Regions from separate parts of the Homo sapiens genome. Here regions 1, 2 and 3 are each linked to region 4. Evidence: promoter capture Hi-C in 16 types of primary human blood cells and fetal thymus (Javierre and others, 2016). All regions are on one chromosome and are shown on one strand. Each heading gives the region's core, a stretch centred on a gene start or on the middle of the fragment in contact. The rest is flanking DNA. Distances are from core to core; before and after follow the strand shown. Region 1 overlaps MYRFL (myelin regulatory factor like). Region 2 overlaps MYRFL (myelin regulatory factor like). Region 3 overlaps MYRFL (myelin regulatory factor like). Region 4 holds the start of KCNMB4 (potassium calcium-activated channel subfamily M regulatory beta subunit 4).

What was found. The method cuts DNA at HindIII sites, captures the fragments that hold promoters and counts their contacts. A CHiCAGO score of 5 or more calls a contact.
Region 1: a fragment that was not itself captured here is called in contact with the fragment with the promoter of KCNMB4 in region 4 in 2 of 17 cell types (monocytes and M0 macrophages); the score reaches 7.7 in monocytes.
Region 2: a fragment that was not itself captured here is called in contact with the fragment with the promoter of KCNMB4 in region 4 in 5 of 17 cell types (monocytes, M1 macrophages, M2 macrophages and 2 more); the score reaches 8.0 in monocytes.
Region 3: a contact is called between a fragment that was not itself captured here and the fragment with the promoter of KCNMB4 in region 4, in 3 of 17 cell types (M1 macrophages, M2 macrophages and endothelial precursors). The highest score is 9.1, in M1 macrophages.

The regions. Positions count from the first base shown.
Region 1 is chr12:69,874,118-69,876,817 of GRCh38, forward strand. All of the region lies in intron 2 of MYRFL (myelin regulatory factor like), which reads left to right. Among named protein-coding and RNA genes, the nearest start is that of MYRFL, 50 kb to the left of the region's middle. The HindIII fragment of the contact is 4,392 bases long and covers 1-2,700 here.
Region 2 is chr12:69,911,175-69,913,874 of GRCh38, forward strand. The region is part of intron 13 of MYRFL (myelin regulatory factor like); the gene reads left to right. Among named protein-coding and RNA genes, the nearest start is that of MYRFL, 87 kb to the left of the region's middle. The HindIII fragment of the contact is 3,573 bases long and covers 1-2,700 here.
Region 3 is chr12:69,890,884-69,893,669 of GRCh38, forward strand. It overlaps MYRFL (myelin regulatory factor like), which reads left to right. Exons shown (of 25, transcript NM_182530.3): 7 at 88-283. Among named protein-coding and RNA genes, the nearest start is that of MYRFL, 67 kb to the left of the region's middle. RefSeq lists a silencer at 452-652. The HindIII fragment of the contact is 2,649 bases long and covers 148-2,786 here.
Region 4 is chr12:70,364,995-70,367,694 of GRCh38, forward strand. It overlaps KCNMB4 (potassium calcium-activated channel subfamily M regulatory beta subunit 4), which reads left to right and starts at 1,296. Exons shown (of 3, transcript NM_014505.6): 1 at 1,296-2,076. The coding sequence starts at 1,741. RefSeq lists a silencer at 1,112-1,351. The HindIII fragment of the contact is 11,202 bases long and covers 1-2,607 here.

The sequences.
Region 1 (2,700 bases), core at 189-2,688, 490 kb before region 4:
TAAACTTCACAAAATCATAATTTTTACTTTAAGCACTCAAATGTATTTTATTTTGTTATTTTATTTTATTATTATTTTTGAAATAACTTCTCAGCCTGTTGCTCAGGCTAGGGAGCAGTGGCAACTCATGGCTCACTCAAGCCTCATTCTCCTGGGCTCAAGCGATCCTTCAGCCTCAGCTTCCTGAGTAGCTGGGAGCACAGGTGCATGCCACCACGCCCTGCTAATTTTAATATTTTTTGTAGAAACAGGGTCTTCCCATGTTGTCCAGGCTAGTCTTAAGCTCCTGGTCTTAAGCAACTCTTCTCCTTCGGCCTCCCAAAGTGCTGGGATTATAGGCATGAGCCACTGTGCCCACCTTCAGATGTATTTTTAAAAATTAAGATAAAAAATAATTTACATTCAATAATATATCATTTTTATTCTCTTCATACCTTTTCATAGTTTCAAATTTCCATCTAGAACCATTTCCCTTTAGCCTGAATAACTGTCTTTAACATTTCTTATTGTACATGTCTATTCTCAAATTCACTTAGTTTTCTTTTATCTCAAAATATCTTTATTTTGCTTTCATTCTTGAAGACTATTTTCATTGGATATCAAATTCTGGCTTACCAATTTTGTTTTTCTGTAGCACTTTAAAGATGTTTTTGTACTGTCTTCTGGCCTCTGGAGATTTTGATTAGTCAGTGATTATTTGAATCACTATGACCCTGCACATAAGGTACTGTTTTTCTTTAGCTACTTTTAAGACTTTCTCTTTATTTTTGGCTTACAGTTACTCCACTCTGATGCGGTAGATGTATTTATTTTGCTGAGCTTCTTAAAGATATAAATGTATGTATCTTTAAAGATATAAATGTATATATCTAAGATATATACATTTATATCTTTAAGAAGCTCAGCAAAATAAATACATCTACCACATCAGAGTGAAGTATATATCTTCATAAAGATATATACATTTATATCTTTTCCTAAATTTAGGAAGATTTTGGCTGTTATATCTTAATTTTTTTTTCTGTTTCATCCTCTCTGCAGGTTCATAAATCTCTTTTTCTCTCTCTTTTTTAAAGTTCATTTTTTTCCTCTCTGTTGTTTAGATGGGATGATGTCTATTGATGTATCTTTGAGTTCTGTTTTAAGCCCATCTAATAATTTTTTTAAATTTTTATTTCTGGAATTTTTCTAATCTTAGAATTTCTATTTAGTTTTTTTATTTGTAGTTTTGATTTCTTTGCTGAGATTTTATTTATTTTTTTTCACAAGCATGTGCTTGTCTGCTCCATTTAGCTTCTTATAGTAGCTGCTTTAAAGATCCTTGTCTGCTAATCCAGTATCTGGATCATTTCTGGGTTAGTGTTCACAGATTGTTCTCTCCCTCCAAGCTAGGCCACATTTTTCTGGTTCTTTGTAGAGAGCAGTTTTTCCAACCCCTGCCGGTGGACTGCTACGGGTCCATGGCCTGATAGGAACCTGGCTGCAAGAGCATTCCCGCCTGGGCTCTGCCTCCTGTCAGATCAGCAGCGGCATTAGAGCGGCATTAGGAGCGGGAACCCTGTTGTGAACTGCACAGGCGAGGGGGATCTAGATTGCATGTGCCTTATGAAAATCTAACTAACGCCTGATGATCTGAGATGGAGCAGTTTCATCCCGAAACCATCCCCCGCCCCCACTACGTCCATCTCTTCCATGAAATCAGTCTCTAGTGCCAAAAAGGTTGGGGATTGCTGTTGTAGAGTAGTTTTTGTACCTGGACATTGTGAATGGCTGGATTCTTTTACATCCCTCAGAAGAGTATACTTTTGTTTTAGTAGTCAATCACTTTGCTTAGACTCAAATTGTAAACTTTGTCTCGGGAAGTAACTCAAATTTCAGTTCAGTCCTGTTGTCTTTGGTTGGGCTGTGCGCAGTCTGCCCCATATATGATAGATCAGGAGTCAGCAATAGATTTGGCAGAGTTACACACAGAATCCAGGGGTCCCCTGCTCTTATCTTTCTTTTCCAAGATTCCTCTTTCACTTTTCAGCAGCTGTGTTTGCCCCAAAATTTGTTTTCTGGTTATTCAGGCCAGGAAGGCTGTGGATTTCTATCGGAGGTTAGCTGTCCTGTGGCTCTGACTTCAACCAGCCCTCAGACTAAATGCTGTAAACAAGAAACTCACTGTATGGCAGTACCTTCTCCAAGTTTCAGTGCCCACCACAATCTCCTTGCTTTTGTCTAGTTTCCAGTGTCTTTGGGTAGGTGGTGTTTTTTGTTTTGTTTTGTTTTTGTTTTTAAAGTATTTCCAGCATTTGTACTGTTTCTCTGTGGGAGGGTCAGATTTGGTAGGAGTTTAATCATCATATAAGAAGGGGGAAAAAAAAACGAAAAGAGCTCTTTGTGATTCTTTAGCATTCCCTATTTATCTGGTTTTGTTCTCTGTCTTTAATGTTAAAGCCTTTCTCAAAATGTCTGGTCCTTTATTGTTTGTTCGTGTTTAAAAAGTTCTGTGTGCAAACCATTGTTCTCATCCAAGGATGAATTTCTTGGTAGAGTGATGAAGGAGGGGATGGCTATTTCCTTGGTAACTTGAAAATACTACGTTTTCCTCGAGTACATTCCATTTTTCTTGGGAACATTATTCCAATTTCTTACTTGTGGGAAATCTGCTTGGATACATGCAAAACAGAGTTAAGGAAAAGACTCAGAATTCAGTGG
Region 2 (2,700 bases), core at 113-2,612, 450 kb before region 4:
CAGCAGATCTTAACTGGCACTAGGAAAGTCCACTTAGCATGAATGCACTTTAAACAAGGGCCAAACATCATGATAAATACTGACAAAAAAGTTTTAATTAGACTTCATCTTTTAAAATGGTAATAAACTTATGAAAAATGCATTATATTTTAGGTAATGCAACTTAAATTATAATTACACAATGTGTTTCTTCTTAGAATGATTAAAGATTAAGTGAAGTGTTGAATTTTTTGAGCATAGTTTTTTTGATGAAACGGTGTTTGACTTTTACAGTATAATCATAAAGTGAGTCATTTTTATGAAGATATTCATGGGCCTGATCATTTTTTTCCCAAGGGCCTCTCTTAATTCTTTGATATTCAAATCATTCTCTTTTGAAGGAATGCCATCATGCCTGTAGATTAGCTCGTCTTCATTTGGTAATGGGTCTAAATCTGCCAGTTCCTTGCTTGTCGATGCTGTGTGTATGATTTGAGGAGTTCCCTAATACCATATCTATTGATTCTATGAAATCCTGCATTTTTGCAAGGTTTGCAAATGCACTCTGATGCTGATTTGTTTTATACTGCATTATTATATTTGATGCTGAGAGGAAAGACCAATTGATATAAGGGTTTTGTAGTCATGGGGAGAGATGCTTGAGTGGAGACTAATTTATAATTTGTCAGTTAATGGAGGTAATGCTCCCTGAACTTCAAAGTGCACATGCATCACTGGGAATCTTATTAAAGTGTGGATTCTGATTCTGCAAGAATGGAGTGAGGCCAGAGATCCTGCAATTCCAACCAGCCTCCTGGTAATGCCAATCTTACCAACCTTGCTGGTCAGAAGCCACACTTGGAGCAGCAAAGCAGAGGATGCCTTTTCATGTTAGGCACCACCACCATCTTCCACCTACCAGCCACTGTACCACAAACTCTTAGATGACATGGTCTGGGAGGCCTGCTCAGCCCAGGGCTGCAAGAGCACAGTGGCAGAAGTTGACTTACTGCCTCCTGCTTCCCAAGAACATATCTTCGATAGAAGCAATTCTTCAGTCTCTCTCCCAGACCTGGGCTATCATTTCACTTGAGAGGTATATCATGAAACATTTATTTATATATTTATTTCCCAGGTTTTTTATTGTGGTAAAATACACAAAACATAACATGTATTATCTTAACCATTTTTAAGCATACAAGTCATTGATGTTTGATACGTTCATCATGTTATACAACCATCACCACCATCCATCTCCAGAACTCTTTTTCATATTGTAAAACAAAAACTCTGTACCTGTAAAACAATAACTCCCCATTATCCACTTTCCCTAGCCCCTGGCAACCACAATTCTATTGTCTGTTTCTATGATTCTGACTACATATAAGCAGAATCATAGAGCATTTCTTTCTTTTTTTGTGGCTGGCTTATTTCACTTAGCTTAATGTCCTCGAGGTTCATCTATGTTGCAGTGTGTATCAAAATTTCCTTTCTTTTTAAGACTGAATAATTTTCACCTTTATTCACATTTTGCATATCCATTCCTATGTTGATGAACTCTTGGGTTGCTTCCATGTTTTAGGTATTGTGAATAATACTGCTATGATTGTCAGTATTCAAATGTCTCTTCAATATTCTGTTTTCAATTTAGGGGGAATATTTACTCAGAAGTGGAACTGCTGGATCACATGGCAATTCTATTTTTAATTTTTTGAGGAACCACCATACTATTTCCCATGTGACGATATCATTTTACATTCCCACCAACAGTTCCCAAAGATTCCAGTTTGTCCACGTCCTCACCGATGCTTGTAATTTTTTTTTTCTTTTTTCAAACAGAAGCCATCCAAATGGGTGTGAGGTGATATCTCATTCTAGTTTTGATTTACATTTCCTTAATGATTAGTGATGTTGCACATCTTTTCATGTGTTTATTGTTCATGTATATATCTTCTTTGGAAAAATGTCAATTCAAGTCCTTTGCCCATTTTTGACTTGGGTTGTTTACTGTTGTTAGGTTTCAGGAATTCTCTATATATTCTGGATATTAATCCCTTATGAGATATATAATTTGCAAATATTTTCTCCCATTCTGTGGGTTGTCTTTTCACTTTCTTAATAGTGTCTTTATGTACAAAAGTTTTAAATTTTAATGATATCCAGTTTATCTATTTTCCCTTTTGTTGCCTATGCCAATGGTGTTCTATCCAGGAAATCATTGCCAAATCCAATATTGTAAAGATTGTGCCCTTTGTTTTCTTTGAAGAGTTTTATAATTTTAGGTTTTACATTCCTGTTTTTGATCCATTTTTAGTTAATATTTGTGTTAGGTAAGAGTCCAGCTTCATCCTTTTGTATATGGATACCCAGTTTTCCTGGCACAATTTGTTGAAAAGACTGTCCTTTTCCCATTGAATGGTCTTGGCATCCTTGTCTAAAATCATTTAACCATATATGTGAGAGTTTATTTCTGTGCTGTTTATTATATTCCATTTGTCTGTATGTCTGTCTTTATGCCAGTACCACACTGTTTTGATTACTCTAACTCTGTAGTAAGTTTTGAAATCAGGAAGTGTGAGTCATACGGCTTTGTTCTTGTTTGGGGGGATTTCCTTGTCTATTTTCAGGGTCTCTTAAGATCCCACGTGAATTTTAGAATAGATCTTTCTATTTCTGCAAAAGACAACGTTGGGATTTTGATAGGGATTTCATTGAATTTGT
Region 3 (2,786 bases), core at 222-2,721, 470 kb before region 4:
TGAAATGTTTATACAACTAATACTGTTAATGAAAATAAATATATGGAAACATTTGTAAAACTGGTTTCTTGGTTTCTCTTTTCATAGACCTGATGTGGGCTATCGAGTTGTAACAGACAAAGGATTTAATTTTTCACCAGCAGATGAAGCTTTTGTTTGCCAAAAGAAGAATCATTTCCAGATAACCATTCACATCCAAGTTTGGGGAAGTCCAAAATTTGTTGAAACCGAGATGGGCCTAAAGCCAATAGAAATGTTTTACTTGAAAGTTTTTGGCACTAAGGTATGTCTTTTATTTAGTTCAGTTTATATCAGTCAACATTTATTTTGTTTCAGTTGTCTATTGCTGCATGACAAACTATCCCAAAATGACTTAAAATAATAACAGTCCTTTATTTTGGTCACAAATCTGCAACTGGGTCAGCGTGTGACTATGACAACTCATCTTTGTTCAGAAGTCATCAACTGGGGCAGCTTAACTGGGCCATTTTCAAGAAGCACTCAGATGCCTGTTGAGTTTGGGCTGGCCATCAGCTGGAGCTCAAATGGGGCTCTAACTGACAGGGCTTAGCTCTTCTCCATGTGAACTGCTCTATGGGATAGCTTGTGTTTCTTCACACCATGGTGGCTGGCTTCTAAGGATAAACATTGCAAGACAAGTTAAGTGAAAGGTGTCAATTTCTTTCTTTCTTTCTTTCTTTCTTTCTTTCTTTCTTTCTTTCTCTTTCTTTCTTTCTTTCCTCCTTCCTTTCTTTTTCTTTCTTTCTTTCTTTCTTTCTTTCTTTCTTTCTTTCTTTCTTTCGTTCGTTCGTTCTTTCTTTCTTTTTTTCTTTGAGACATGGTCTTGCTCTGTCACCCAGGCTGGAGCACAGCAGCATGATTATGCCTCATTGCAGCCTTGACCTCCCAGGCTCAAGTGGGAGCCTCCCAAATAGCTGGGACCACAGGTGTGTGCCACCATGCTGGCTGTGTTTGTAGAGATGGGGTCTCACTATGTTGCCTGGGCTGGGCTTCAATTCCTGGGCTCAAGTGAGCCTCCTGCCTCAGTCTCCCAAAGTGCTGGGATAACAGGCATGAGCTACCATATCCAGCCAAGATGTCGATTTCGTAAGCCTGGGCTCAGAAAATGGCACGGCATCATTCAAATGATAGTTTTATAGTTTTCAGTGAATACTCTTGCAATTCTTTTACTAAATGTATTCTTAATTATTTTATTTTTATTGATGTTGATGCATTTTCATATGAAGTAGATTCATTATTTTCATCAAATTATCAAAGAGATCTGTGACCTAAAAAAAGCCAAGGAGCCACTAATTTAGTCAACGCCCTCCTGTACAGTTTAACAGAGGGGAGACTGAGGGCCAATAAGGTTACACAATTCATCCAAGGTAGTAAATGATAGAGCTCGGTTCAGAATGGAGGTAATATGACTTCTGAGTGATCAAAAAGTATTTCTTAAATTGTAACTTCATATCCAGTTCCTAAGAGGGAGAAGCATTCATTATCTGCCTATTTTGTTGTTTTTGTTGTTGTTTTGTTTTCTTTAAGACAGGGTTTCGCTCTGTCGCCTAGACTGGAGTGCAGTGGCTTTATCACAGCTCACTACAGCCTCAACTTCCTGGGCTCAAGCAATCCTCCTGCTTCTGCCTCCCAAAGTGTTGGAATTACAGGCATGAGCCATTGTGCCTGGCCTACATATTTTATTCTGATAGCTAACCTGGGCTTAGGCACTAAGGCTTGGCTGCTGCACACATAACTGTTCTTGCACCAAACTGAGCTCTTAAAAACAAAACAAAACAAAAACCAAAATACATATAAACATCAAACAAACAAGCAACAAAAAGACATTCTTTGTATGATTATGAATGTAATATAAGTTCATTGTGAAAATTTTGGAACATAATAGAAATGTATGAAAAAGAGATGAAATTCATTTGTATTTGGGATCCACCATTTGGTAGCCTATTTTTTCTCTTTTCTTCTGTTATTAAAATTAATCTCATATTGCTAGTAATATATTGTGGACATCACATTATATGATATTAGTAAGGACCCCATAAAAATATTGTTCACAAAGATAATATAGTTTTCCATTGTATGGATGCATCATATTAATTCCCTTATTATTAGAAGTTTTGTTTATTTTCCATTTTTTATTGTTAATAAAACTTCAGTGAACATCCACCCACCTTTGCATAAGGATACATTCCAGAAGGGGAATTTACACATGAAAGATACATATTATTAAAACTCTTGATGTAGGCCACCAGTTGCTTTCTAGAAAGATTTGTTACAATGTGAATACCCACCAGTTGTATATTACAGGGCTGATCTCACAAGTCTTTTCCAATATTCACAGAACAAGAAGAGTTTGTAGCAGATGCTGAATAAATGTTAATTCTTATGATTTGTTTATTATATTGTATATCATTGTTTCTTCATAGTAGAATGAATGTAAGCTCCCCAAGGACAGGAAATTTTGTTAATTGTGTTCAGTTCTTATCTCTAATGCCTAAAGCAGTTCCTCGTACATAGTGGGTGCTCCATAAGTACTTCTAGAATGAATGAATAAATAAGGAGCTGCCTTACTCCTGATGTTTCAGCCATCTTCCAGCCCTCTCTGTATTCACTGCCTACCTGAAATACTCTGTTGTCTTGTGTTCTCATTGTTTAATTTCACAGGTATTTATTTCTTTCCTCATCAACAGAATACCACGTTAAGGTAGGGACTATTGTCTTATGTGTCTTTTCAGTGACTTGTTCCTCCTGCCCAGTGCCTAGGATGA
Region 4 (2,700 bases), core at 46-2,545:
AAAAAGTTTATGTAGTTTGCAAGGAAGTTAATATTCTGATTTTATTCTTCGAAATGTACATATAAATAGTTCTCAAGTTTGATTTTATGATAAAAGTGTAGTTTGGGAAAAGGTCATTCTAACTTTAAAAAGGTCGCGAAAACAATAGAGGCTGAAGCATTGTTAGCGTAATTGGGGGAGGAGGGAGCAACGGCAAGAATTAAGAGCAGAACACAGGTCTAGAAACAGTACCTGTCCCAAAGTGGGTCTGCCCGGCGCTGTCGCTTTAAGCAGCGCTCCTGGAAACCTCATCTACAAATCCTGGGGCGGGTCAGGGGTGGCAAGACTCCTAAGGAGGGAAACGACAGAAATGATTCTGTTCTTGCGAGCCCCAAAGCAAGAGTACTTTTCTGATGGGTAAAGTGGTATTTCTTTCCAGGCTGCAAAGCTCTCCACCTTTTTCCTTTGGTCTCAGTCAGCCCCAGCCATGGGGGCAAATCAAGTTGGGGTCAACTCGGCTGCCAGAGACCTAAGTTGCCACAAGGGTCACCGACGACCTAAGCAGCAAGTTTCCTTCGTCCAGCCTCCTGCCCCCACGCACATTGCCTCCACAGCAAACTCCACCTGACTCAGCTTGTTTAACTCCAATCCTGCAGCCCTCCCGGCCTCAGCAGGGTCAGGGGGCGCGGGTCTGCGCCAAGACGGTTAGGAGGCCCAAGTCCTGGGACTGGACGGTTACTGCGCTCCCTTGGGCGCAGCCGCTGGCGGCGTGGGCGCGGCTGGGTCACGCCTCCGGCACCACCGCGCGCCAGCCCGCCCGTGGCATGGGAACCTGCGATTCAGTCGTCCCCGGGGACCTCCCAGCGCACACCGCTAGCCTGGGGCTTTCACCTCGATCCGCCCGGCCTGGGCGGCTCGTGTCCTCCCACACCGCCACCCGTGCCCGCTTCCCGGGGTGCGCCCGGAGCCTGGCCGCTCTCCCTGCAGGTGACCAGTACTCGTTTGGAGTTCAAGATTCCCGCCGCTCCACTTGAACTCCACCCTCCCCTCTTATTATTATTATTATTTTAACTTCCCTCCGGTTAAGCTAAATTGATCTTAATCTTTCATCTCGGACGTCCCTCTAAGGGGAGTGAGCGAAGATTCCGATTGCAAGTCGCCGCTGTCGCTTGTGCCCGTCAGCCCCTCGCCCAAAGGAGACGCCCCCGGGCGGGGCGGGGCGGAGCGGGGCGGGGCGGAAGGGCCCGGGTCTGCTGCGGACGGGGCGGGGCGGAGCCTCCTCCTGCACGGGGGAGCCCCCGGGCTCGCCCCAGCTCAGACACTCCTAGCCTTGGGGCAGCTGCCGGGCGAGTCAGCGGAGTAGCGGCCAGCGGGCGATGGAGACAGAGAGACACCCGACGAGAGGAGGCGGGGTGGGGGAGGCGGGGAGAGTGCGGGGGCGGAGGCTGGCAGGGGGCGCTGGAAGCTGGAGCGGTCCGTGCGCTCCCCGCGCCCGAGGGTGCAGGAGGCTCTGAAGCGGCTGCTGCACCGCGGGGCCCAGGCGGCGGCTGGGGGGCTGGGGGGCGCTGCCGCCGCCGCCGCCGGGGGCGTCGCTGGCCTCGGCCCCTTTGTTCTCGCGCGCTCCCCCTCGCCGCCCACTCCCCTGCTGTCGCGCGGCGGCGGCGGTGGCGGCGGCGGCTCCTCCCGCCCGAGGCAGTCGGGCTCGGCGCCGGGGGCGGGAGGGGGCGGGGGGAGCACGCCAGCCGCCGAGAGTGGGGGGCGATGGCGAAGCTCCGGGTGGCTTACGAGTACACGGAAGCCGAGGACAAGAGCATCCGGCTCGGCTTGTTTCTCATCATCTCCGGCGTCGTGTCGCTCTTCATCTTCGGCTTCTGCTGGCTGAGTCCCGCGCTGCAGGATCTGCAAGCCACGGAGGCCAATTGCACGGTGCTGTCGGTGCAGCAGATCGGCGAGGTGTTCGAGTGCACCTTCACCTGTGGCGCCGACTGCAGGGGCACCTCGCAGTACCCCTGCGTCCAGGTCTACGTGAACAACTCTGAGTCCAACTCTAGGGCGCTGCTGCACAGCGACGAGCACCAGCTCCTGACCAACCCCAAGGTAAGAACGCCCCGCGCACCCAGGGGCTCCCCGCGAGGGAGGTTTGGAGGCAGCGTCGGTGTTAGACTCCGCGCGGGGAGGGTTCGGCGTGTGCTCGCATTGCTAGGAGGAGACCAGGTGGCGCAGGCTGTGCTCAAACCAGGAATGACTACATCAGGGAGCCCCAGGGCTCCGGTCTTTTCAGGTGGGTTTACGCGCGGCGACCAGTGGTGCCCAGAGGCTTACTTTAAAACCTGTCTTGCCTGGTCTCAGATTTTGAGGCCTCGACCCAGTCCGGGTCCTGCGCCTACCGGACTGGGTTTGGAGAAGTGCAAGGAGCCAAGAAAGTTAACTTTTCCTCCATTTAAAGCCAGTGGTTAGCGGGGATCCACCTACTCCAGCTCACGGTCAAGGTCCGAGCTTCAGCTGGTCTCATCTAGAACTCAGATGGAATGACCTTCCTTGAAAGGTCGAGGGGACTCTCGAAAGTTGTGAGAGAGTTCCTCACCTTTTCGCTCTACATAGGCATTTTCAACTTGGGGTTCAAAGATAAGCTTTTGTGGCTTGACAAACGACCCGGAATCAAATGTGGAATATTGCGGGTCCATTTTGGGAAGTACAGAGGGCTCCTAGTTTTCATGAAAT